7 separate regions of the Homo sapiens genome follow, and regions 1, 2, 4, 5, 6 and 7 are each linked to region 3. The links are contacts of gene promoters, found by promoter capture Hi-C in blood cells and fetal thymus (Javierre and others, 2016). All regions are on one chromosome and are shown on one strand. Each heading gives the region's core, a stretch centred on a gene start or on the middle of the fragment in contact. The rest is flanking DNA. Distances are from core to core; before and after follow the strand shown. Region 1 holds the start of THAP7-AS1 (THAP7 antisense RNA 1). Region 2 holds the start of LZTR1 (leucine zipper like post translational regulator 1). Region 3 holds the start of CCDC116 (coiled-coil domain containing 116). Region 4 overlaps SNAP29 (synaptosome associated protein 29). Region 5 overlaps PI4KA (phosphatidylinositol 4-kinase alpha). Region 6 overlaps CRKL (CRK like proto-oncogene, adaptor protein). Region 7 overlaps CRKL (CRK like proto-oncogene, adaptor protein).

The links. The method cuts DNA at HindIII sites, captures the fragments that hold promoters and counts their contacts. A CHiCAGO score of 5 or more calls a contact.
Region 1: the fragment with the promoter of THAP7-AS1 here is called in contact with the fragment with the promoter of CCDC116 in region 3 in 2 of 17 cell types (endothelial precursors and M2 macrophages); the score reaches 8.3 in endothelial precursors.
Region 2: a contact is called between a fragment that was not itself captured here and the fragment with the promoter of CCDC116 in region 3, in 3 of 17 cell types (non-activated CD4 T cells, naive CD4 T cells and activated CD4 T cells). The highest score is 7.3, in non-activated CD4 T cells.
Region 4: a fragment that was not itself captured here is called in contact with the fragment with the promoter of CCDC116 in region 3 in 1 of 17 cell types (neutrophils); the score reaches 8.0 in neutrophils.
Region 5: a fragment that was not itself captured here is called in contact with the fragment with the promoter of CCDC116 in region 3 in 2 of 17 cell types (naive CD8 T cells and naive B cells); the score reaches 5.7 in naive CD8 T cells.
Region 6: a contact is called between a fragment that was not itself captured here and the fragment with the promoter of CCDC116 in region 3, in 2 of 17 cell types (naive CD8 T cells and endothelial precursors). The highest score is 5.5, in naive CD8 T cells.
Region 7: a contact is called between a fragment that was not itself captured here and the fragment with the promoter of CCDC116 in region 3, in 3 of 17 cell types (naive CD8 T cells, naive B cells and total CD4 T cells). The highest score is 8.4, in naive CD8 T cells.

What each region holds. Positions count from the first base shown.
Region 1 is chr22:21,000,340-21,003,580 of GRCh38, reverse strand. THAP7-AS1 (THAP7 antisense RNA 1) reads right to left here and starts at 1,659. Exons shown (of 2, transcript NR_027051.1): 1 at 752-1,659. THAP7 (THAP domain containing 7) reads left to right here and starts at 1,463. Exons shown (of 4, transcript NM_030573.3): 1 at 1,463-1,749; 2 at 2,170-2,325; 3 at 2,794-2,934; 4 at 3,149-3,241. The coding sequence starts at 1,670. RefSeq lists silencers at 468-858, 1,500-1,609, 1,630-1,799 and an enhancer at 2,400-2,609. The HindIII fragment of the contact is 5,606 bases long and covers 1-3,241 here.
Region 2 is chr22:20,979,548-20,982,772 of GRCh38, reverse strand. It overlaps AIFM3 (AIF family member 3), which reads right to left. Exons shown (of 21, transcript NM_001386814.1): 18 at 3,071-3,146; 19 at 2,649-2,753; 20 at 2,006-2,026; 21 at 1,415-1,781. The coding sequence ends at 1,742. LZTR1 (leucine zipper like post translational regulator 1) reads right to left here and starts at 476. Exons shown (of 21, transcript NM_006767.4): 1 at 202-476. The coding sequence starts at 401. RefSeq lists a silencer at 279-408 and enhancers at 799-898, 949-1,028, 3,079-3,225. The HindIII fragment of the contact is 3,358 bases long and covers 1-2,929 here.
Region 3 is chr22:21,631,268-21,634,299 of GRCh38, reverse strand. CCDC116 (coiled-coil domain containing 116) reads right to left here and starts at 1,540. Exons shown (of 5, transcript NM_152612.3): 1 at 1,473-1,540; 2 at 1,047-1,180; 3 at 1-278. The coding sequence starts at 1,118. RefSeq lists an enhancer at 1,309-1,808. The HindIII fragment of the contact is 2,744 bases long and covers 521-3,032 here.
Region 4 is chr22:20,881,623-20,885,038 of GRCh38, reverse strand. SNAP29 (synaptosome associated protein 29) reads right to left here. Exons shown (of 5, transcript NM_004782.4): 4 at 1,470-1,568. Among named protein-coding and RNA genes, the nearest start is that of SNAP29, 24 kb to the right of the region's middle. The HindIII fragment of the contact is 5,220 bases long and covers 1-3,416 here.
Region 5 is chr22:20,849,886-20,853,220 of GRCh38, reverse strand. The region is part of intron 1 of PI4KA (phosphatidylinositol 4-kinase alpha); the gene reads left to right. Among named protein-coding and RNA genes, the nearest start is that of PI4KA, 7.3 kb to the left of the region's middle. The HindIII fragment of the contact is 190 bases long and covers 1,361-1,550 here.
Region 6 is chr22:20,947,881-20,951,363 of GRCh38, reverse strand. CRKL (CRK like proto-oncogene, adaptor protein) reads right to left here. Exons shown (of 3, transcript NM_005207.4): 3 at 1-1,653. The coding sequence ends at 1,519. Among named protein-coding and RNA genes, the nearest start is that of LINC01637, 7.5 kb to the left of the region's middle. The HindIII fragment of the contact is 1,368 bases long and covers 1,174-2,541 here.
Region 7 is chr22:20,922,084-20,925,156 of GRCh38, reverse strand. All of the region lies in intron 1 of CRKL (CRK like proto-oncogene, adaptor protein), which reads right to left. Among named protein-coding and RNA genes, the nearest start is that of CRKL, 6.2 kb to the right of the region's middle. RefSeq lists an enhancer at 1-526. The HindIII fragment of the contact is 4,315 bases long and covers 1-3,073 here.

The sequences.
Region 1 (3,241 bases), core at 410-2,909, 630 kb after region 3:
GTGGCGAAATCTCAGCTCACTGAAATCTCCGTCTTCCGGGCTCCATCTTACATGCCCATAATCCCAGCTACTCAGGACGCTGAGGTAGGAGAATTGCTTGAACCTGGGAGACAAAGGTTGCAGTGAGCCGAGATTGCACCACTGCACTCCAGCCTGGGCAACAGAGCTAGACCCTGTCTCAACAACAACAACAAAGAAGGAGGAGAAGGAGGAAGAAGGAGAAGAAAAGAAAAAAAAAAGTCGTCAAAGGATATTAATTGTCGATAGATAACAGATAATGCCAAAAAATATAGAAGCAATTCTTAAAACACAGTGTTGGAACTGGTCCACAGCTCTGATTTTTAATGAGCTCCCATTTCTGAGGCCAATATAAACTTCATTCTATGCTGCCCATCTCTGACAGGTGGGCATTAACTACCAGCCCCCCACGGTGGTCCCTGTGGGAGACCTGGCCAAAGTGCAGCGGGCGGTGTGCATGCTGAGCAACACCACGGCCATCACGGAGGCCTGGGCCTGCCTGGACCATAAGTTCGGCCAAGTGCGCCTTAGTGCACTGGTACGTGGGGGAGGGCATGGCAGTGGGGGAATTCTCCGAGGCCCGCGAGGATCTGGCAGCTCTGGAGGATTATGAAGATGTGGGCATGGATTCCGTGGAAGCTGAGGCTGAAGAAGGCGAAGAATAGTGAGGGGAGGGTGCGGCAGGCAACCATCCCTCTGTATTCCCCACCATAACGCTAGGAGAGCTAATTACCTATTAAAATTTCCGTATTGCAAATTAGCCGGGCGTGGTGGCGGGCGCTTGTAGTCCCAGCTACTGTGGAGGGTGAGGCAGCCGAATGGCGTGAACCCGGGAGGCGGAGTTTGCAGTGAGCCGAGATCGCGCCACTGCACTCCAGCCTGGGCGACAGAGCGAGACTCCGGTCTCAGGAAAATAATAATAAAATAAAAAATAAAATTTCTGTATTGCGATACTGTCTTTCTCCTGTGTTGTACTTTGAGAGATTCCTCCTCCAGATAACCCTCCCTGAAGTCCACCTCCCCAGTACGAGAGTGAGTGCGGGCTCTGGTTTTTGTCGGGTTCTTTCGTGCAAGCGTCCCAGGCCCCGTTTTATTTCTTCCGTCAGAGGTCATTCCGAGGCGAGCTGCCGCCCCTGCGGCTTTCGAGGCTCCCAGGACACTGCCGCTTTCCGCTCCCGGGCCGCTCCCGAACGCTGGGGCCGCTCCATCGTGCCGGGGTGTTTACGGAGAAAAGTGAGGCCTGAGCGGACGAAAGAGAAGCCCACGTGGGCGACAATACTGGTAGTCCAGGGAGCTGGGACGACGCGGGCGCGTCAGAAACTCGCACGCTCGCGCCGCTTACTAACCCAGCTAGCTAGGACCTCGCCCCGCCCCGCCCCGGTGGCGGGGGCACCTCCGGCTCTCCAGTCTCTATGGTACCAACTTCCGGCGCGCGCTACCCCTCGCGAGACTTCGGCGGCGCAGCAATGGCCAGAGCGTGAGTGCCGCTGACAGAAGTCAAGAGAATCGGCTGGGACGGGGTTGGGGCGACAACGGGCCGGGGGGGACCCGACAGGCCAGAGCCCCTTGGGGAGGAGCGGCGGCTGGAGGCGCGAGGCTCCTCCGGATGCCCGGAGAGCCGCTTGCGACTTAACTCCCGCCTCTTTCCCAGATGCCGCGTCACTGCTCCGCCGCCGGCTGCTGCACACGGGACACGCGCGAGACGCGCAACCGCGGCATCTCCTTCCACAGGTCAGCGCGCGTGCGCCGCGGGCTCACGTGCGCATGCGCTAGTTGTTGCTCGCCTCGGGTCGCAACTGCGTAGAGGCTTCGCGCCTTTCTCAGATACTGAGGAGGCTTGAACCTGTGGGTGGGAGGTGAAGCGGAACGGTCCCGGCGGGACTGAATGCAGTCGGGAAGGGGAGGACGGGAAGTCTAGCCGGCTTGGACCCGCCCCACTCTGTTACCTGCCAGATGACGCTGAGGAAACTGCTTTTCTTCTCGAGGCCTCCGTTGCCTCGTCTGTGCCCGGGCGGTGGTGCTTACCCGGCGGGGTCGCAGGGAGGTCTCGTGGCGGCGCGTGTTGGGTCTGCGTTTCCCCTCTGGGGTGCTTGGGCAGCATGAGCCCAGGGCTGTGGACAGCCTGGTGCTCACGGGTTTGTGGCTCCACAGACTTCCCAAGAAGGACAACCCGAGGCGAGGCTTGTGGCTGGCCAACTGCCAGCGGCTGGACCCCAGCGGCCAGGGCCTGTGGGACCCGGCATCCGAGTACATCTACTTCTGCTCCAAACACTTTGAGGAGGACTGCTTTGAGCTGGTGGGAATCAGGTGGGCCTCCCTGCCGGCCGACGCTGGGGTAGGATGTGGGGCTCCCGGCGGACTGGGACAGCTGCAGGTCATGGAAGTCCCTTGAGCAGCCTGCGTCCAAGGGGGCTGTTTCCTGTTCCCAGCTCTGCACAGTGAAACCCACCCCCAGGATCACTGTGCCTGTGACACAAGGGGAAAACAGGAGCCTTTCCAGAGAGTATCTTTCAGAGCCCCAGTCTTGCCAGCAAGTCCACAAATCAAAGAATTCTTTCTGGCTGGTCAGCCCAGCTCGGCTTATGCAGGCTTTCCACACACCTGGACTGTGAGGAGTCCTGCGGGGAAGCGATTGGTGTAGCTGTAACTTGGCGTTCCCCAGACGTATTGTTTGCACGATGCCTTCCAGCATCCCACGGCGCTGCTGCTGGGGGCAGATTGGCCTGGGGAGGCAGCACTTGCTCTCCAGCTCATCTGGGTTGCTTTTCCCCGCAGTGGATATCACAGGCTAAAGGAGGGGGCAGTCCCCACCATATTTGAGTCTTTCTCCAAGTTGCGCCGGACAACCAAGACCAAAGGACACAGTTACCCACCTGGCCCCGCTGAAGTCAGCCGGCTCAGACGATGCAGGAAGCGGTATGTGATATGGGTGGGGGATGCCCCACTCCCACCCCTAGGCTGAGGGACTGGGCCCTAGGGGTGTCTGCCAGCAGTCTCGCTGGACAGGGTTCTTGCTACACAGAACCTGTGGATCGGGTTTGGGTGTTAAGGGTGGATCAGGTGGGCTGGTGGAGGGGGGTCTGGCAAGCCCTCAGCCTAGCCCATCAGTCTCTCTCTTCCCCCTTACCAGCTGCTCCGAGGGCCGAGGGCCCACAACTCCATTTTCTCCACCTCCACCTGCTGATGTCACCTGCTTTCCTGTGGAAGAGGCCTCAGCACCTGC
Region 2 (3,225 bases), core at 1-2,500, 650 kb after region 3:
AGTACCCTGTCCCGGGACATCGGGCTCTGGGACTCCCTCGGAACCCTCTCCCCTGCCCTGAACAGCGTCCTGTACAGCACCATCCACCTCATTACCAGATCCTACCCCAGGACACCACCCCCCGGCTTCGCCCCTGGACCCGCCCTGGGACCCTCGCAGATCGCCCTTCCTGTCCTCAGGACCCCATGAAGCCCACCGTACCGGGCACCCACGAACTCGTCGCAGGGCGGGAGGCGCCGCCAGCGATGCACTGTTTCGAAGGGCCCGAAGTTGAGCGTCAGGTACTCGACACTGTCCGAGCAGCTATGGTCGAAGTCCACGCTCGGGGCTACCTTGGACCGCGCGCCGCCTGCCAGGGCCGCAGCCCCGATCTGCCCCCCCGTGCTGCCCGGTCCAGCCATCCCGGGTCCACGCCGGATCGGCCGCGCTGTAAGCCCAACTTGCGGCCACCGCCCCGGGCCGGCTGGAGAAACCACATTTCCCGGCGAGCCCTGCGCTGACGGTGCGGCACGTCCGGCCAGCGCCGCACTTGCGCCCTCCAGCTCTTCCCGACAAGCCTACCGCTTGCCGAGACACCGCGGGCGAGCGCAGGATGCGGTTGTCGACCGCGCGGCGAGCGTGGGACCTTCTGGGGAGCGTTTCAGGCTATGTACTGGCGCTGCGTTGTCCCTTCCAGTGAATGCAGTGTGTCGTCCCTAGCCCCGTCGCGACTGCTCTTCCCGGCGCCTCCCAGGCCCACGCAGCCCGAAGACCCGCGGCCGGCTCGCAGTTCCCGGCATGCCCTGGGTCTGCGCGTGGCTCCGGCCTGGATCGTCTGCCGCTGCCGGGATCCCCCATGGAGGGTTCCGGGCTCGCAGCGGCCTCTGCAGGCGGCTCAACGCTCCCTTTCCTGCTAGCGCCCTCAGCCCTGACCCCCAGCAACTCCCCTCTCCCCTTGGCTTTCTTACTGACTGAGAGGCAGCCCGGCGAGGAGCCTCTGGATTCTCATTCCTACTTAGCAGGGCCTCAGCTCCTTCACCTCCGACATGGGGATTGAGAATGCTCCGGCTATGAAAAGCATGGGGTCTGTCTCAGGACACAGCTCCCACAGCCCTAAGTGGGCAAATGCCCCAAAGTGTCAAGCATGAGCCACCTCTGAAGGAGCATTTACTATCTCAAGACCTTTGGGCATGTTGTCCCTTCTACCTGGAATACCCTTCCTTCAAAACTCAGAGCCAAAAGCAAAAAGCGTTCGCTGATCGCAGAGGGGGAGAGGGATGTGGGAGGGCTTGGGGCGCAGAATTAGTTGCTACCTCCTCTGGGCGTTCACAGGCCAAATTTCCTTGGTGTGGCACCTGGCATTCTGTGATTGTGCCTGTTTCCCTGTGGTCTGGTCCTGTGCCTATTGGCCCAATTACACTGGGAGTCATACAGATCTGCAAATTTGTGCGTTTTAATTTTACGGTAATGTTTAACGTGTTGCAGGGTTCTTCAGGGGACCAGTCCCAATAGAGGGAGAAGAGGCAGGGCTTGTCCTGCCTCCAGTGCCAGCTGTCAGTGGCAGCAGAGGCCTTGAGGGTTGAGCATCTTCTGGATCCAGCAGAGGCCTCCCAGGAGGGGAGCCAGGTGGCTGAAGGCAAGCACTGGGAGGGCTCAGGTTCTGCCCTGGGGGATCCTGGGACTGGAGATTGGCACCTGCCCCCAAGGCTTGGCCTGTGCCCTTGGTGCCCCCTTTGCCTGCCCAAGTCTACTGCATGTGAGCTCAGGATCCTTTCCCCGTAAGCCAGGACATGTCGCCAGTCCTGCAGGAGTGAGGGGAGGAGGGGTCAAGACAGAAGAAAACAGGCTCTCCACTCTGGGCACCCTGAACAGCTGGCCCTTGAGGACAGCAGGGGGTCTGTTCTGTGCCAGACCCTAGTGCCCAGCAGGGAGGTGTACTTGGACAGAGGGAGATAAGACCATTGGGTGGAGGGTCTGGGCTGACATGGGAAAGGCTCAGAACGGTCAACATGAAGGACACACGTACTTGCTGTGCAGCACAAACAGCCTTCACGAAGGCAAGAGAGAGAAACGGAGAGAAGGCCAAGGAGAGAGCATGTCATTTATCATGTCCCCTTCTGGTCCTCCATTGTTTCCAGCCTGAAGCCTGCCCCTGTCTCATAGCCTCCCAGTGGCCTCCAGGCTGTCCCCAGTCCCTGGGAGCTCTCTCCCAGAGGGTGAATCTCATTGACACCACACCAGGATAAGGGAACTGGCTGGTGTTGAGTGAAACCTAGAACCACCCCCACCATCTATGTGGAGGGCATACCCAGGGCATCAGTAGCTGCATTTCCCACCTAGCTTCTGCCAGGCTCAGCACAACTATGTCCAGTTAGGTGTCCCACGCCTGGTGATTGCCCATGCATTGGGCCCTGACCCCTTCCCACAGCACTGGCCCTGCCTGGTGACACACATCTCTATCCCTTCCATCCACCATGAACACATAACCAGCCTGCTCTCAAACCATGATCCTTGCCCCACACCTCCCTGTAGTCCTGTAAGCCTCAGGCGATGCAAACCAAGAGGGGAAAGGCCCTGGAGGGTTGTGGGGGCGGCTGGCTGTCATAGGCACCTTAGCCAGTACTCCAGGGAACTACTCCCACCCCCAGGCTTCCCACACCCACACTCACTCCACCTCCCGCTTCCGGATGGCACGGCCTGAGGCCAGCACCTCAGCGACCTTGGACACAATGGGATCGTAGTTCATGCTGGCCACGGCGATCACCTCGTCGCCTCTGCAAGGAGAGGATGGCCAAGCCTGAGGACTGCGAGGCAGCAGCCCCTTTTTGAAAACCCTGATGCACTGCTGTCCATCTGGGGCCCAGGGAAGGACCTACCCCAGGGCAACAAGAATGGCCTGAGCACCCAGCCCTCCCTGCTTTGCACATCGCGGCTTGACCGTGCACAAGCTTCGGGCTTTCCTAAGGAAGCTCCAGCACTCCTCAGCGGGGCTCAGGGCTGGGCTCTTGTTCTGGGATTTTGCCTGGGATGAATCCCCCTTCCCGACTGAGCTCCCGCTGCTTCGCGCCAAGCTGCACCCCGGTGCTCTCACTTAGTGTAAAAAGCCACAAACTTCAGCTCCTCCAGATCCCCCTGGATGATGACGTCGTCGAAGCCTTCTCCGTAGCCTGTGGGCCGGGCAGGTGGGTGGCACCCACGTGAGCCGGGGGAGGGAACGAGACGTCACAGGATCCCCTCCTAACCCCG
Region 3 (3,032 bases), core at 291-2,790:
ACCTCCACTGGGTCCTGCACCTCCACAAGCGGCACCCCAGCCTCCGTCTTCATGGCAGCCATGCGCTCAGTCGCCTTCTCCACCACTGTCTCCAGGCTGTCCAGGACCTGGCTCTCAGTTAGGAAATCCAGAAAGTGGCCAAAGGGCTGAGGGTGCCTCTTGTTTCGGCGTTGGCCCTGGAGTGCTGAGCTGCCACATGTGGATGGTGGGTGTGGCACACGGCCCGGCTTGCAGGCTGGCCGCATTTCTGGGACCAGTGGCTTCTTGGGCAGCTGCACCTGAGCAGACAGGTATGTCACAGGGGGCAGGGGTGCCCTACAGGTGAAGGGTTCCCTGGGGTAACACTAGGACCTGGGTGGGAGTGAGTAGTGGAAGGAGCTGCATTTTGGAGTCTGGAAGCCCTGGGTTTGGACCCTGGCTCTGCCACCTACAGCCTGATGCCAGTGTGCAAGATGGCCCCTCTTGAGGTCCAATGTCCTCATCTGCAAAGTGGAGGTCTATTCAGGGTCACCCCGAAGCTTTCCTAACACCTACATTTCACACACACAAGTCCTGGCTAAGGAGTCTGCAAGCCTGCTTCTGCCCTGACACGTGGCAGGATGAGCAATCATGAATCTCTCGGAGTCTCCCTCCAGCTCCTCATCTGTCCATGCAGCAGGCCATCCCTGTATCCATGGCAGGGCTGCAAACAACATCTGAGGTCTTGAGTGCAGACAACACCTGAGGTCTTGAGCCCTGTGCTACCCGGGCCTGTTTCTCCAACTTGAGCCATAGGCACCTAGTCAACTCCATGCTCCCACTCTAGGGTCCCAGTCCACCCAAGCACCTTCTGGGTCGCTGGAAGTCAGGAGGAAACAAGGAATGAAATTGAGTGTGACAGGGGCAAGCAGTGGGGGACATAGGAGAAGTCAAGGCAATAAGGACTTCACTAAGAGGCCCAGAGAAGTCAATAGACAATGAGAAATGGGGGTTGTGGTCTTGGGTGCCAGGGTTGGTGGGGAACATGTTGTGGCCTCAAGGGTCGGCGCCCTGCTGGGCACACTTACCCGTGCACTGCACATGGAGTGGCTGGCCTCGTCATCGGCCAGGTAACCCGAGTGGTGGCGGCACCTGGCCATGTGGTCACCTGGCAGGTGACCGGGCCTGCTGCCCACCTCTCTCTTCAGCTGCGCATTCCTCTCTGCGTGGGGTGGGGAGACAACCTGAGGGTCTCCAATAGGTCCACGCATCTGTGGCCCTGGAGTCTGCGGGTCCCTCGCTCCCCGCACCCCGCCTCCTTCATGCATCCAGCCCTTCCTCTGCTCCATGGCCCCCATGCGTCTGCAGGCAGGCAGTTTCCAGAGTCATCGGGGTGGAATCGCTGAGGACAATCCTGTCTCCGATCATCTTTGGATCTGCGTGTGCTCGACCCGCCCTCCTCCCAAACCCTGGGCAACCTGGCTTTCACCCCAGCCCAGAATCAACAGACTCACCAGAAACACCGCCTTGCTCCGCACAGGCCAGTACAGTCTGCGCCCTCACTGGAGCAGCTGCACAGTGCGAGGAAGTCGGCTGGCGGCCTCCACTTGCTTATTTGCATACCACATCCTCATTGGTTCTTACCGAGGAGCTCGTCCACTTCCCTCTCCGACACAATGGTTGGGGGCGGGGCCCACATTGGCCCCACCTCCAATTCTCTGGGCTCTGCCCTCCCACACTCGCCTGGGAGCCGCAGGCTGAGGATGCTGGTGCCCACGCTCCCCGCTGCCGGGAGGACCCCCCACCCACCACCGAAGCTGGGGCTAGGCTCTTTGATCTGCTCCTGCCCCGAGGGGAGCCTAAAAGCCAAAGCCACGTCTTCCACCGGTGGCACAAGCACCTTCCTCGTGTCCTCCTTGGTTGCTGCGCAGCCCTGGGCCTCCTGCTCCTGTTCGTTTCCAGGGGCCTCTGCCCTTCCCGCGGTGTGCACAGCCCCAGGTTCTGCCTTGAGACCTCTCCCCTCTGCAGTGGAAAGAGTGCCGGCTCTAAGTCACAGACCTAGCTTCAGTTCCTGGCTCTGCTCTTTCCTGCCAATGTGACTCAACCTCTCAGCATTAGTCCCACACTGTAAATGGGCTTGAGTGTTCTTCCAATATGGGAGTATGGGATTCAATAAAATCTCCCTACAGCACACCCAGTAACCCAGTGGAGCCTTGTGTATTCTTTAATTAATTAATTTATTTATTTGGAGACGGGAGTCTCGCTCAGTCGCCCAGGCTGGAGTGCAGTGGCGCAATCTCGGCTGACTGCAAGCTCCGCCTCCCGTGTTCACGCCATTCTCCTGCCTCAGCCTCCCGAGCAGCTGGGATTACAGGGGCCCGCCACCACGCCCGGCTAATTTTTTTGTAGTTTTAGTAGAGATGGGGTTTCACCGTGTTAGCTAGGATGGTCTCGATTCCCTGATCTTGTGATCCGCCTGCCTTGGCCTCCCAAAGTGCTGGGATTACAGACCTGAGCCACCGCGCCCAGCGGAGCCTTGTATATTCTTACCTCCTCTCCCTCCCTCCTTTTCCCCTTTGCTCAGTAATACCCCACCATGGTGTCACTTCTTCCAAAAACCTTTTACTGTGAATTCTGCCACGCCCTACGCAATTCACAGTAAACCCCATTCCAGACTCTACCATACCATGTTGCTACTTATTTTTCTATCAGATGGTGCTTCTTTGGGGCCAGAACAGAGGCAAGTCACCCTTAATCTCTAATACTTTCAGTGTCTGGCACCAAGTAGGTGCTCAATAAATGTCAGTCTCCTCCTTCCCACCTGCAGACCCTCGGGACCTCTGACCTTTCCAAGATCAGCTTCCAGTGGAGAACGGTGGTTGGTTGAGGTCTGACAATTCACCAGTCACTATAAACACATCAGTCCTTATGCCAAGAGCATGGCTGAAGGACTCTATGAGGCTTTCAATCCTCACATGCCTCACGAAATATTGTTCCTCTCAAGCTCTGCTCTGTCCTCTCAGCTCTGGCTACCCACTAGGTCAGGGACAGAGAGGACATAGCAGGCCTGGGTG
Region 4 (3,416 bases), core at 318-2,817, 750 kb after region 3:
CTTTGGGAGGCCGAGACAGGCGGGTCACCTGAGGTCGGGAGTTCGAGACCAGCCTGACCAACAAGGAGAAACCTCATCTCTACTAAAAATACAAAATTAGCTGAGCATGGTGGTGCATGTCTGTAATTCCAGCTACTCGGGAGGCCGAGGCAGGAGAATCGCTTGAACCCAGGAGGCAGCGGTTGCAGTGAGCTGAGATTGCACCATTGCACTGCAGCCTGGGCAACAAAAGCAAAACTCTGTCTCAAAACAAAACAAAACAAAACAAAACATAATCACTAAGTGCTTGCCTGCTGGGCCCCAGATACAAAGTAGTGACAAAATGGAAACACTCCCATGCTGTCCTGGAATCTACAGTCTGATTGGGAAGACAGCAGGCAAACCAGCAGATACACAATCACAAACGGCCAGGGCAGCCCCCTGGAAACACAAGGGTCCTGAGAGACAGGGAGAGGAGGCCATACTAATGCAAGACTGACAGAAAGAGAAGGAGCCAGCCTACAGAGAGTCGGGGGAGCCCATCCAGGCAGATAGGGGCCACGAGGCAGAAAGAACTCACATCAGAAATCCCACACGAGCCTGCAGGTGATGAGGGCAGAAGGGACTAGGGCAGCCAAAGAGAGCCTGGACTGCACTGTGAGTGTGTGGGGTTCCATGAGAGAGTTCTGGAAGAATATACCCTTCACTTCTTCTTTTTTTTTTTTTTTAGGTGGAGTTTCGCTCTTGTTGCCCAGGTTGGAGTGCAATGGTGCGATCTTGGCTCACTGCAACCTCTGCCTCCCGGGTTCAAGTGATTCTCCTGCCTCAGCCACCCGATAGCTGGGATTACAGGCGCCTGCCACCACGCCCGGCTAATTTTTGTATTTTTAGTAGAGACAGGGTTTCACCATGTTGGTCAGGCTGGTCTTGAACTCCTGACCTCGGGTGATCCACCCGCCTTGGCCTCCCAAAGTGCTGGGATTGCAGGCGTGAGCCACTGCGCCCGGCCCCCTGCACACCCTTCCGTTTTGAAACATCATGCTGGAGGCTGTGTGGCCAAAGTGCCAATTGCAACACGAGCACTAACTCTTACCATCCCAGGCACTTTCTGGCTCAGGTAACCTTTCCACTGTTCTCAGAGGTAGCCCATTTCACAAGGAGGAAAACAGGGCTCTGAGTGGCCAGGTGGGAAGGATGAAGTGAGCGGTCACGTCCAGGCTATACTTTATGGCCTCTCAGGGACTCCTGGGTCCCTGGTGCTGTTCATGAAAGTGAGAGGTGGGGAGGGCTCGGCTGGGCTAGAAGTAGGAAATGGTGAGAAGTGGAGAGATTCCAGAGACAGTGAGGTGGCAAGATGGACCCAGCTTGGCGTGGGATGTGATGTGTGGTGAGGGAACTGAAGCTGGAGGATGCTCATGCAGGGGCTATGCTTGGCGTAAGCTGCCTGAAGGACAGTGGCTTACAGAAGCTGGTGTGGTGCTCAGTCTTACCTAGGTTGCTGTCGATCTTCTGGTGATAGGCTCGAAGGTGTGGGTTCTTTGGGTAAGCATCAGTACTCATGGCAGAACCAGCCCCTCTGGGGACAGGGTCTAAGTTTAGAAGGAAACACCAGGAGAGCGGTTAATTGACATTCCTTCAAATGCTGCTTCACACACCCAAAACAATTTCATCTGGAAAATGGGTGGAAGGAACGAAGGGGTTGGTTCTGAGGCTATCCAGAGGGATGAGGGAGGAGCACAGCGCAGGCTCATGGGCCAGAAGAAGAGACGCTTCCACGGGGTAGGAGAGGGTTCTCACTTTCCCTCAGTACTTGGGAGATCAAACACCCTCAAATTAAGGGTCACCTAACTCCTGGTGCACAAGCTCAGGAAAGACAGAGTCACACAAGTGACAATACAGAAGTGGAACTGCAATAATGCAAAACTACACAGTCTGTGGACAAAGTATAAAAATACAAATTGTTACGTTACATAAATGGAATTATGGGTAATTTCGTTTCTTTCTGAAATTTATTTCTACACTATCTTTGCACTTGAAACAAATACGCAAAAAAAAAAAAAAGAAATGTTAAATAATGCACATTTGCCACAAGAAATCTTCCTTGAACTTTTAGTTTCTTCTTTTTTAAAATTATCTTTCTTGGCTTGAATGAACTTCAGTTTCTAAACGCACACGGAAAAGCCCTGTCATCCCGGTTTATCTCTTTCAGGGAAACTTCACTTTCTAGACTTAGCACATTTCCTCCAGCACCAACCAACTGAAACCATTCTGCAAACTGTGTCGATTTTTTCTTCAGTCTTTTAAGTTAATATATACTGCACAAATAAAAACTCTCTTTAATTCCTTAAAATTGTGTCTTGGGTGCAGTGTCCTGTGCCCCTTCTCCAGGGTGTGATGAGGCCGGTTTTCCCAGCCCTTGCCTTTCAATTTACACTCACTTCCTCCACTTGCCTTTCCAGAATGAACTGTGCTGATGATGTTAGTCTCTCCTGCTCCCCGCTCTTCCTCCATCTGGGCTCTCCTCAGCTGCATCAACCACAACCATGGTGGGTTCCAGAGCTTCCATGGTGTATCGTTTTCTTGAAGGCAGCACAGTAAGCCTTTGGTTTCTAGCACCAATTTCAATGTACCTGGCTATTGTGGGGGCCTATGGAGGAGGCCCCAGGAGCCCTAAATTCCTTTCCAGATAAGGGATGTTTCTGGGCCTATCACTTGATAGAAGTGGAATGATTCGATCAACACTGTCTTGCACACCTTGTCCATGTGGCTGCTGCTCCTTCTGCTTGGGCTGGAGGCTGTATTAGTCCCTCACTGATGCTGTGACAAATGACCACAAACTTGTCTTACGGTTCTGGAGGTCAGAAGTCCAACATGGGTCTCACTGGGCTGAGTCGGGGTGTCCTCAGGGTTGCACTCCTTCTGGAGCTCTTGGGAAGAATCTAATTCCTCGCCTTTTGCAGTTTCTACAGTTCACCCGTGTACCTTGGCAGGTGGGCCCCTTTCTCTATCTTCAAGGCCAGCAGCATCTTCAGATCTCTGACTCTGCTGCTCTCTCTCCTGCTTCTCTTTCCACTTAAAAGGGACCTTTGTGATGACACTGGACCCAACTGGACAACCCAGGATAATCTCCCCATCTTGCTGATTAGCAATTGTAACTCCATCTGCAACTGTAATTCCACCTTTGCCATATAACCTAACACACTCACGGGGTCTGGGGATTAGGACGTGGACAGCTTTGAGGGGCCAGTATTCTATTTACCAAGGGGTTTTTCTGCAGTTGGCTTTTTACTGCTGGAACAATTGAGAATGACACAGGCAGGAACCAATGATGGGCACGCTCATTTTCTTTTTTGAGACAGAGTTTCACTCTTGTTGCCCAGGCTATAGTGCAGTGGCGTGATCTCAGCTCACTGCAACCTCCGCCTCCCAGATACAAG
Region 5 (3,335 bases), core at 206-2,705, 780 kb after region 3:
TTGTCCTTCTATTCCTCTCCCCACCCTCAGGAGGCTTTGATCAGAGCCCTTTTTCCATGTCCTAAAATGTTCTCTTTGTTTTCTTCAGTTAGAATGCCAGAATCCTGAGGTGTCGTAGCTAACTATTGATCTGGTTTTTGAAAGAAAATAGAGACGGAGTCTCACCATTTTGCCCAGGCTGGTCTCAGATTTCTGGGCTCAAGTGATTCTCTTTTCTTGGCCGCCCAAAGTGCTGGGATTACAGGTGTGAGCTGCTGCACCCAGCCCGATCTGATGTTTAAATGGCACTGCGGCATTAGGGACAGGCTGAACCCTCCTTGGTGGACATATGTGCTCCATAAGATGAGTTAATTCTAATCTGTAGTTGGGAGAATATGTGGCTTGGTGCTTAGGGTAGTGGGCTTTCTGGAGTTCATGGTTATTCAGTCTGTACTTTAGAGTGGTCTGCCATGGAGTAAAAATCATAGTGTTGGCGTTTTTCCAGTATCATGAAGCCAAGAATTTCCTATCCTCTTTCCCTTTGCTTTGTGAGGCTATGTTAAGAAGAGCCATCCGTAGAGCGAGAGGAGAGAGATAATGAGGGTCAGCGGAGGGTATACGCGGTGCCAGAATCATTGTTATTAAATCAACTAGAAAATATTTTAAGAAGAAATTGGAAGAAGAAAAAATCTTTACCTGTAACCATGCCATATTAACTATTAGTTTGCTAGGCTGCCATAACAAAGTACCACAGACTGGCTTAAACAACACAGATATATTTCCTCCTCATTCTGGAAGTTAGAAGTTCAAGATGAAGGTGTCAGCAATGTTGATTTCTTCCGAGGCCACTTTCTCCCTCTGCCTTCACGTAGCCTTCCCTCAGTGCCCTCCTGTGTCACCAGCTGTTTGTCTCCCCAGGGGGCAGAAATGTTCTATTTCTCACTCCTTACTGCAGATTCTCTTTTCTGCTGTCTGTGTTTGCAGTTTGCACTCATTGGAGGTGTGGTTGCCTCTAATCTTTCCCACCAGCAGCTATTTCCATCATTGACGTCAGTTGCTGAAATTTATGCATTTTATCTTCCTGATTGCTTATTTGTTTATTTATTTATTTACTTTTTGAGATGGAGTCTTGCTCTGTCACCCAGGCTGGAGTGCAGTGGCGTGATCTCTGCTCACTGCAAGCTCTGCCTCCTGGGTTCATGCCATTCTCCTGCTTCAGCCTCCCGAGTAGCTGGGACTACAGGCGCCCGCCACCACGCCCGGCTAATTTTTTGTATTTTTAGTAGAGACAGGGTTTCACTGTGTTAGCCAGGATGGCTTATTTATATTTTTATTTTTGTATTTGCTTTTGTTGTATATGTTGGCATGCTGGAGAAAAGCTTGGCCTTTCATGAACATTGCCAAGTTGGCCAGAACGCTACTTTCATTTGTGTGGTAAACTGACAAATAAATACAGAGTTGAGGCAGAAATCCTCAGGTCTCACTTGCATTTGTTTATTGAGTCCTGAGAGGCTCTGTCTCTGCTGCAGAAGCCATTCTCTTTTCCTGAATGTTTTTCTGTGTTTAAAGCTTATCTGGAAGCCTGGATTCAGGATAACCAACGCAGCCGGGCACAGTGGCTCACGCCTGTAATCCCAGCACTTTGGGAGGCTGAGGCAGGCACATCACCTGAGGTCAGGAGTTCGAGACCAGCCTGGCCAACATGGTGCAACCCTGTCTCTACTAAAAATACAAAAATTAGCAGGGCGTGGTGGTGTGCGCCTGTAAGCCCAGCTACTTGGGAGGCTAAGACAGGAGAATTGCTTGAACCCGGGAGGTGGTGTGGTGAGCTGAGATTGCACCACGGCACTCCAGCCTGGGCGACAGAGCAAGACTCCGTCACACAAAAAACAACAACAACAACAAAAAAAACCCAAGGCTATACTATTATGAAAGCAAAAGATGGCACCATCCGTTCATATGATAAATCTTTGGGGGTTTGCTGTGTTGCAGGCACTGTGCTAGGCCCTGGTATTAGAGGGGTGGATAAATAGACATTAAAAAAAAAATAGATAGGGTCTCACTGTGTTGCCCAAGCTGGTCTCAAATTCCAGGGCTCAAGCCGTCTGCCCACTTCGGCCTCGCAAAGTGCTGGGATTATAGGCATGAGCCACTGTGCCTGGCCTAGACATTTTTAAAAATAGAAATTACATTTTTTTGGAGACAGTTTTGCTTTTTCACTCAGGCTGGAGTGCAGTGGCATGATCATAACTTACTACCACCTTGAATTCCTTGGTTTGAGGGATCCTCCTGCCTCAGCCTCCCAAGTAGTTGGGACTACAGGCACGCACATTGTACCTGGCTAAGTAAAAAAAGAAAAATTTTTTTAGAGATGGGGTCTTACTATCTTGCCCAGGCTTAGCTCAAACCGTGGGCTCAAGTGATCCACTCACCTCAGCCTCTCAAAGTGCTGAGATTATAGGCTTGAGTCACTGTACCCAGCGAAAATTTTAAAAAATTTTAGTAGGCCGGGCGCGGTGGCTCACACCTGTAATCCCAGCACTTTGGGAGGCCGAGGCGGGCGGATCACGAGGTCAGGAAATCCAGACCATCCTGGCTAACACGGTGAAACCCCGTCTCTACTAAAAATACAAAAAATTAGCTGGGCGTGGTGGCCTGTAGTCCCAGCTACTGGGGAGGCTGAGGCAGGAGAATGGCATGAACCTGGGAGGCGGAGCTTGCAGTGAGCTGAGATCACGCCACTGCACTCCAGCCTGGGTGACAGAGCAAGACACCGTCTCAAAAAAAAAAATTTTTTTTTAAATGAGTATTTATAGTCCCAGAGACCTATGGGGACTCCTTTAGCATGCGCCACCACAGTCAGCTAATTTTTTGTATTTTAGTAGAGACGGGGTTCCAGGCTAGTCTTGAACTCCTGGCCTCAAGTGATCCACCTGCCTTGGCCTCCCAAAGTGCTGGTGTTAACAGGCGAGCCACCGTGCCTGGCTTGAGTGTTTAGATTTTTGTTGTGTTACTTTAGGGAATGTTGGGCTTTGTTCTGGTCGGCAGTTGCTTGTGGTTTGATTTGATCCTTCATAGGCTAGGTTTTTCAATAGTGCTTTCTTGAGATATAATTCACATACCACAAAATTTACCCATTTAAAATGTACAGTTCATCATATTTAGTGTATTCACAGAGTTGTCCATCCATCACCATGATCAATTTTAGGTCATTTTCATTGCCCTCAAAAGAAACCTTGCTGTTACCCTGCAGCCCTACCAGCCCCATCCCTAGACAACCACTAGTTTACTTTCTGTCTCTGTAGATTTATTCTGAACATTTTGTAGAAATAGAATTCTATAAGATGTGGTTTTTT
Region 6 (3,483 bases), core at 608-3,107, 680 kb after region 3:
AATGGTCTCCCTAGTCACTAAAACACTAAGACATCAAATACATTAACGAATTTCCAGAGCTTGCATTTCCTTTGCTTGGGAGCATCACAGACACTTACTTAGACTGTGAGACCAGTATGAGCAGCACCAACTTTCTCTGGCAGCCTGACGAGATTGGGCCTGGGCACGGAGGTCTGGGCTTCAGTGAGTGGAGTTGAACGATTCATTAATGAGTCCAACGATTCTATGAACAACGCCACTTTTTAAGGAAGTTTAAGTCTGAACCTTAAAGGGGTACATTCACTGAAAAGCTGAACAGAAAACTGGCCAAGTGCCCTCCAACCCACTGCTCTTATCACTGGCAAAACAAGGTAAGCAAAGGTTTCCCTAAAGTACCCCCAACTCTGATGCTTTTTAAAACAAAGTAATCCAAGGGGCTGTGCACATAGCATGGCACACCACAACTGCATTATTTTGTGTGTTGTCTGCTACATGGCAAAACAAGGTACTACTGGCAACCAAGACAATAAAGGCCTCTGCTTCAGGGTTGTTCTTTTCAGATTCCTTTAGTTACAGCAGCTTCAGTTTAGAAGCTCAGAGGCATGAGTCATTCCTTGCACTATCATAAAAACCCAACCTGCTACTTAACCTGTTTAGAACACACAAGTCTAGGCCAGGCGCGGCGGCTCACGGCTGTAATCCCAGCACGTTGGGAGGCTGAAGGCGGGTGGATCACCTGAAGTCAGGAGTTTGAGACCAGCCTGGTCAACATGATGAAACCCCGTCTCTACTAAAAATACAAAAATTAGCTGGGCGTGGTGTGCGCGCCTGCAGTCCCAGCTACTTGGGAGGCTGAGGCAGGAGAATCGCTTGAACTCAGGAGGCGGAGACTGCAGGAAGGCGAGATTGCGCCACTGCACTCCAGCCTGGGTGATGCAGCGAGACACCGTCTCAAAAAAACAAAACAAAACAAACAAAACAAAACAAAAAAAAACCCCCACACAAGTCTAATTAATTAGTTTTCCAAAACCAAACCAAAACAAAAGAAAAAAAAAAGCCAGATTTTGGAGTTTTAGAACAGAATTCTCTCTTCCTTAAGGTTCACTTCCTGTTGTCCAAAGAAAAGCAAGATGGCAGCTAAGCCACTGCTTTGTGGAACAGCAAACATGCAGTATCTCGCCATGGCCTCAAGCTTTCTCTGGTGAACACAACAGAATCAGTCCCATGTACAAACGGGCAGCAATGAGAAGGAAGACCCTTTCCATGTCAACTTCTCTCCACTTGTGTGCTTCCATCAGTATTTCCAGTTTATGATCCAAAAGAACTCTAAAATCGGCTACTCTTTGACAATACGACTATGATACAAACATCAGGAGGCAGCCGCTGTGTGCATTCCAAATGTGTGTGCGACTGCCAGTCTGCAGAAAGCTGGACTTCGGCAATGCAGTGTGACTTGCCTATGAGAGAAAATGCTTTCCCACTTCAAAGGAGACTAGGACAGGCAGAACAACAAAGCAGCAGGAAACAGGGCAACAGCAATCACTCGTTTTCATCTGGGTTTTGAGGGTCAAAGATTTTGACGTGCGTAAAGGGGAAAAGCCCTTTGCGCCCGTTCACTTCGCCTTCCCACTGGCCATTTATATTCATCCTTGTGACTTTCACGATGTCACCAACCTGTATGGATGAAGAAGACAAAGTTAGCATTTCTCTGCAACAAGAAAAAGACAGTTTACATTAAATCACAAACACTACCTTATCCAAAGGGCCCATACATTATTATTTAGACACAGGGTCTCACTCTGTTAGCCATGCTGGAGTGTAGTGGTGAGATCCCTGCTCAATGTAACCTCTAACGCCTGGGCTCAAGTGATCCTTCCACCTCCACCTCTTGAATAGCTGTGACTACAGGCGTGCACCACCATGCACATTATTTTTTAATTTTTTATAGACGGGGTCTGTCGCCCAGGCTGGAATGCAGTGGCCCGATTACAGCTCATTGTAACCTTGAACTCCTGGGATTACTTGAGGTCAGGAGTTCGAGACCAGCCTGGGCAACATGGTGAAACCTCATCTCTTCTAAAAAATAGAAAAATTAGCCGGGTGTGGTGGTACATGACTGCAGTCCCAACTACTCAGGAGGCTGAAGTGAGAGGATGGCTTGAGCCCATGAGGCTGAGGCTGCAGTGAGCCGTGATAGTGCCACGGCACCCCAGACTGGGCAACCGAGTGAGACCCTGTCTCAAAAAAACAAAAATCAAAACACACACACACACAGAAACAGCTTTTGAGCACAAAGCAGCTCCCCACCCCACACCAACCTTCTATTTTGGCCACTAACCCCAACAGGATAGAAATGAACACATGATTCTGAGAATGGTTAAAGTCAAATTACACAAAAAGGTGTATTTTAAAAAAAGACCTTCAGGTGGTAGTCATTGTAGACAGGGTGTTACTCTGTTCAGCAGAGCACTAATCTAAGGTTCTGTATTGTGTACTTAGGTCCATAAAAACGCTACTTGAATATAAGACCCACCTAAGATCTAAGACAATAAGAAATAAGCTTTTGTCTGCTTAAACACATATAGAACCAGGCATCGTGGTACATGCCTCTAGTTCCAGGTCCTTGGCAGACTGAGGTGGGAGGACTGCTTGAGCCCAGGAGTTTGAGACCAGCCGGCGCAACGCAGCAAGACTACATCTCAAAATAAAAACAGGCATAAGGTTTTTATGGCACAGTCCAATGGTCCGTGCCATGAACTTTGGAGCATGCAGGACACCAAACAAATGTCCTGGTTCTGCCACTTTTAGAAACTACATGACTGTAGCAAACTGCTTAAGTTCTCCAAGTCTCAGTTTCCTTCCAACTTTGAAAGGTTCTTGCAGTAATTAAATGATTGTTACTTGAGTAGAGATTCCTGAATAGAACCCATCCCCCAACCCCACGCCCCCTCTAATGATCATACCCTTTGGATGCACGAAGGGAAGAGCTGGAATTAGCACTGAGAAGCACAACACTGTATATATCAGAGGATTTCCAACCTTGTCACCAACAAGGGTCCTCTCAAAACCAATGAGGAACAGGCTGAAAACGGGGTCTAATAAATGACTGTGATGGATACTAAGCAGCCAAAGAAGACTACGGGAAGATTAAAGATGAGGCTAAGGATTGAAAGCTGCCAAGAACACTCACACCTCACGCCTTCCAATTAACTTGTGAGTCTGGCGGTCTTCAACAGGATACTTTCTACATGATCCTACCTAATCAATTAAATAAATTTACTGAACATCTACTCCATGGAAAATGGGCAGGTCAGTTCGTATCCTTAAAAAACTTCTGTCTTTTGAGTGGGATACACAATGAATCTTTGTCAGATAATAACATAGTGTGAAAAGCACAAAGTGGCCGGGCGCAGTGGCTCACACCTGTAATCCCAGCACTTTGGGAAGCTGAAGTGGGTGGATCACTTGAGCCCAGGAGTTCAAGACCAGCCTGGGCAACACAGT
Region 7 (3,073 bases), core at 106-2,605, 710 kb after region 3:
GAGTGCAGTGGTGTGATCTTGGCTCAGTGCAACCTCTGCCTCCCAGGTTCAAGCGATTCTCCTGTCTCAACCTCCGGAGTAGCTGGGACTACAGATGCATGCCACCACGCCCAGCTAGTTTTTGTATTTTTAGTAGAGACGGGGTTTCACTATGTTGGCCAGGATGGTCTTGATCTCCTGACCTCATGATCCGCCCGCCTAAGCCTCCCACAGTGCTGGGATTACAGGCGTGAGCCACCACATCCGGCTGGGAACACAACTCTTAATTGGACAAGATTCCATTCTCAGCATGACAGTGTTCTTGTTTTTTGTTTTTTTGGAGAGAGTCTCACTCTGTCGCCCAGGATGGAGTCCAGCTGCACGACCTCGACTCACTTTAACTTCCACCCCCCAGGTTCAAGTGATTCTCCTGCCTTTAGCCTCTTAGGCACACGCCGCCATGCCCAGCTAATTTTTTGTATTTTAGTAGAGACAGGGTTTCACCGTGTTGCCCAGGCTGGTCTCAAACTCCTGCACTCAGGCAATCCACCCACCTTGGCCTCCCAAAGTGCTGGGATTACAGGCGTGAGCCACTGCACCTGGCCATGTTCTTGTATTTTTCTCTGAATCAAATTCACATGATTTTAACTACTGGTCAGGAGAAACGCAAAGGGGTTTATTCACAGAGTTGAATTCTATGCTGATTAAAATTACTGGCAATCCTTTCCCCATTCCAAATTATGGAAGTCTAGATTTGAGTTCTTAAATAATTAGAACAGGGGATGTAAAGAGGAGGCACAACCATGCTTCTTGTTTCCTCCTGTCCCTTCAGGGATTGGCTTCTACTTCACAGGTGTGTGAGGCTCCTCTTCTGGGCTCTCAGGTTAGACTAAGCACCCTTTCTCAGTTCTCCCACAGCTGTTTCACCATGCATGGAGATTAAATATATTAAATATATACAACTTACATTCATTCATTCATTCATTTTTTGAGACAAGGTCTGGCTCTGTTGCCCAGGCTGAAGTGCAGTGGCATGATCATAGCTCACTGTAGCCTCGACCTCCCATGCTCAAGCAATCTTTCCACTTCAGCCTCCCAAGTAGCTGGGACTTAAAGGCGCATGACACCATGCTCAGCTAATTTTTTAATTTTTTGTGGGAATGGGGTCTCACTATCTTGCCAGGGCTGGTCTCAAACTCCTGGGATCTAGCGATCCTCCTGCCTTAACCTCCCGAAGTGCTGGGATTACAGGCACGAGCCACCGAGCACAGCCAACCTTTACATTTTTTTTTTTTTTAGTAGCCAGGCGCGGTGACTTACGCCTGTAATCCCAGCACTTTGGGAGGCCGAGGCGAGCAGATCCCCTGAGGTCAAGAGACAGAAAACCATCCTGCTCAACATGGTGAAACCCCATCTCTACTAAAAATACACAAATTAGCCAGGTGTGGTAGCGCGTGCGCCTGTAGTCCCAGCTACTTGGGAGGCTGAGGCAGGAGAATCACTTGAACCTAGGAGGTGGAGGTTGCAGTGAGCCAAGATTGCACCACCACACTCCAGCCTGGCAACAGAGCAAGACTCTGTCTCAAAAAAAAAAAAAAAAATGCCAGGCGCGGTGGCTCATAACTGTAATCCCAGCACTTTGGGAGGCCCAGGCGGGCGGTTCACGAGGTCAGGAGATCGAGACCATCCTGGCTAACACGGTGAAACCCCGTCTCTACTAAAAATACAAAAAGTTACCCGGGCATGGTGGCGGGCACCTGTAGTCCCAGCTAACTCAAGAGGCTGAGGCAGGAGAATGGCGTGAACCCAGGAGGCGGAGCTTGCAGTGAGCCAAGATCCCGCCACTGCACTCCAGCCTGGGCGACAGAACAAGACTCCGTCTCAAAAAAAAAAAAATTTTTTTTTTAGTAACCAGTAAGCTCCTCAGAAGCATGATAGGGCTGTCTGATTCAATGTTGGTTCCATATTACCAGGTACATGTAATGCTCAAAGTCTGCTGAGTACAGTACATTATTTTCTTGAAGGGCCAACTTCCTTTAGTTTTTAATGGTAAAATTTTATTTATTCTAATTTTTCTTCATAGCCTGAATTTATCTATCGACACAAGCTAGAAATGGAAAATGTCAAACAAAGCAAGCTACCTTCTGAAGCATTCTGTTGTTAAACTGGAAACAGCCCTTATTAAATAAAAATACACTAGAGCTAGGCCAGGCGCAGTGGCTCACACCTGTAATCCCAGCACTTTGGGAGGCCCAGGCAGGTGGATCACTTGAGGTCAAGAGTTCAAGACCAGCCTGGCCAACATGGTGAAACCCTGTCTCTACCAAAAATACAAAAATTAGCCAGGTGTGGCAGTGCATGCCTGTAATCCCAGCTACTAGGGAGGCTGAGGCAGGAGAATCTTAAACCCCAGAGGCGGAGGTGGCAGTGAGCCCAGATTATGCCACTTCACTACAGCCTGGGGGACAGAGGGAGACTTGGTCTCAAAAAAATAAATAAAATAAAATCCACCATAGGAATACCACAAATACAAAAAGCAGTTAAAGATAAAAACACAGAAGATAACAAAGTTACAAATAGACCAAATCATCCCTTCTTCCCTTTCCCTTCATCCCCACCCACCAGCAAATCAATTTTATCTCCAAAATAGGCATCTCCAAGTCACAGCTCCACTGTCACTATTAGTCACCATCATTTTGTAGCTGGATTACAATAACAGCCCCAGGTCACTCCTCTGCCTCAAATTCCTTCCTTGGAGCCCACAGCACTTTAAATAAAAACCCAATTCCTGACCCTGATCTTTATCTCCAAACTCATTTTATATGTCCCCCTTTCTCCTTTAAGAAACACACTCCCAGGCCGGAGAGGGTGGCTCACATCTGTAATCCCAGCACTTTGGGAGGCTGAGGCAGGTGGATCATGAGGTCAAGATATAGGGACCATCCTGGCCAACATGGTGAAACCTTGTCTCTACTAAAAATACAAAAATTAGCCGGACATGGTGGCGGGTGCCTGTAGTCCCATGCAGTCCCAGCTACTCAGGAGGCTGAGGTAGGAGAATCACTTGAACCTGGGAGGCAGAGGTTGCAGTGAG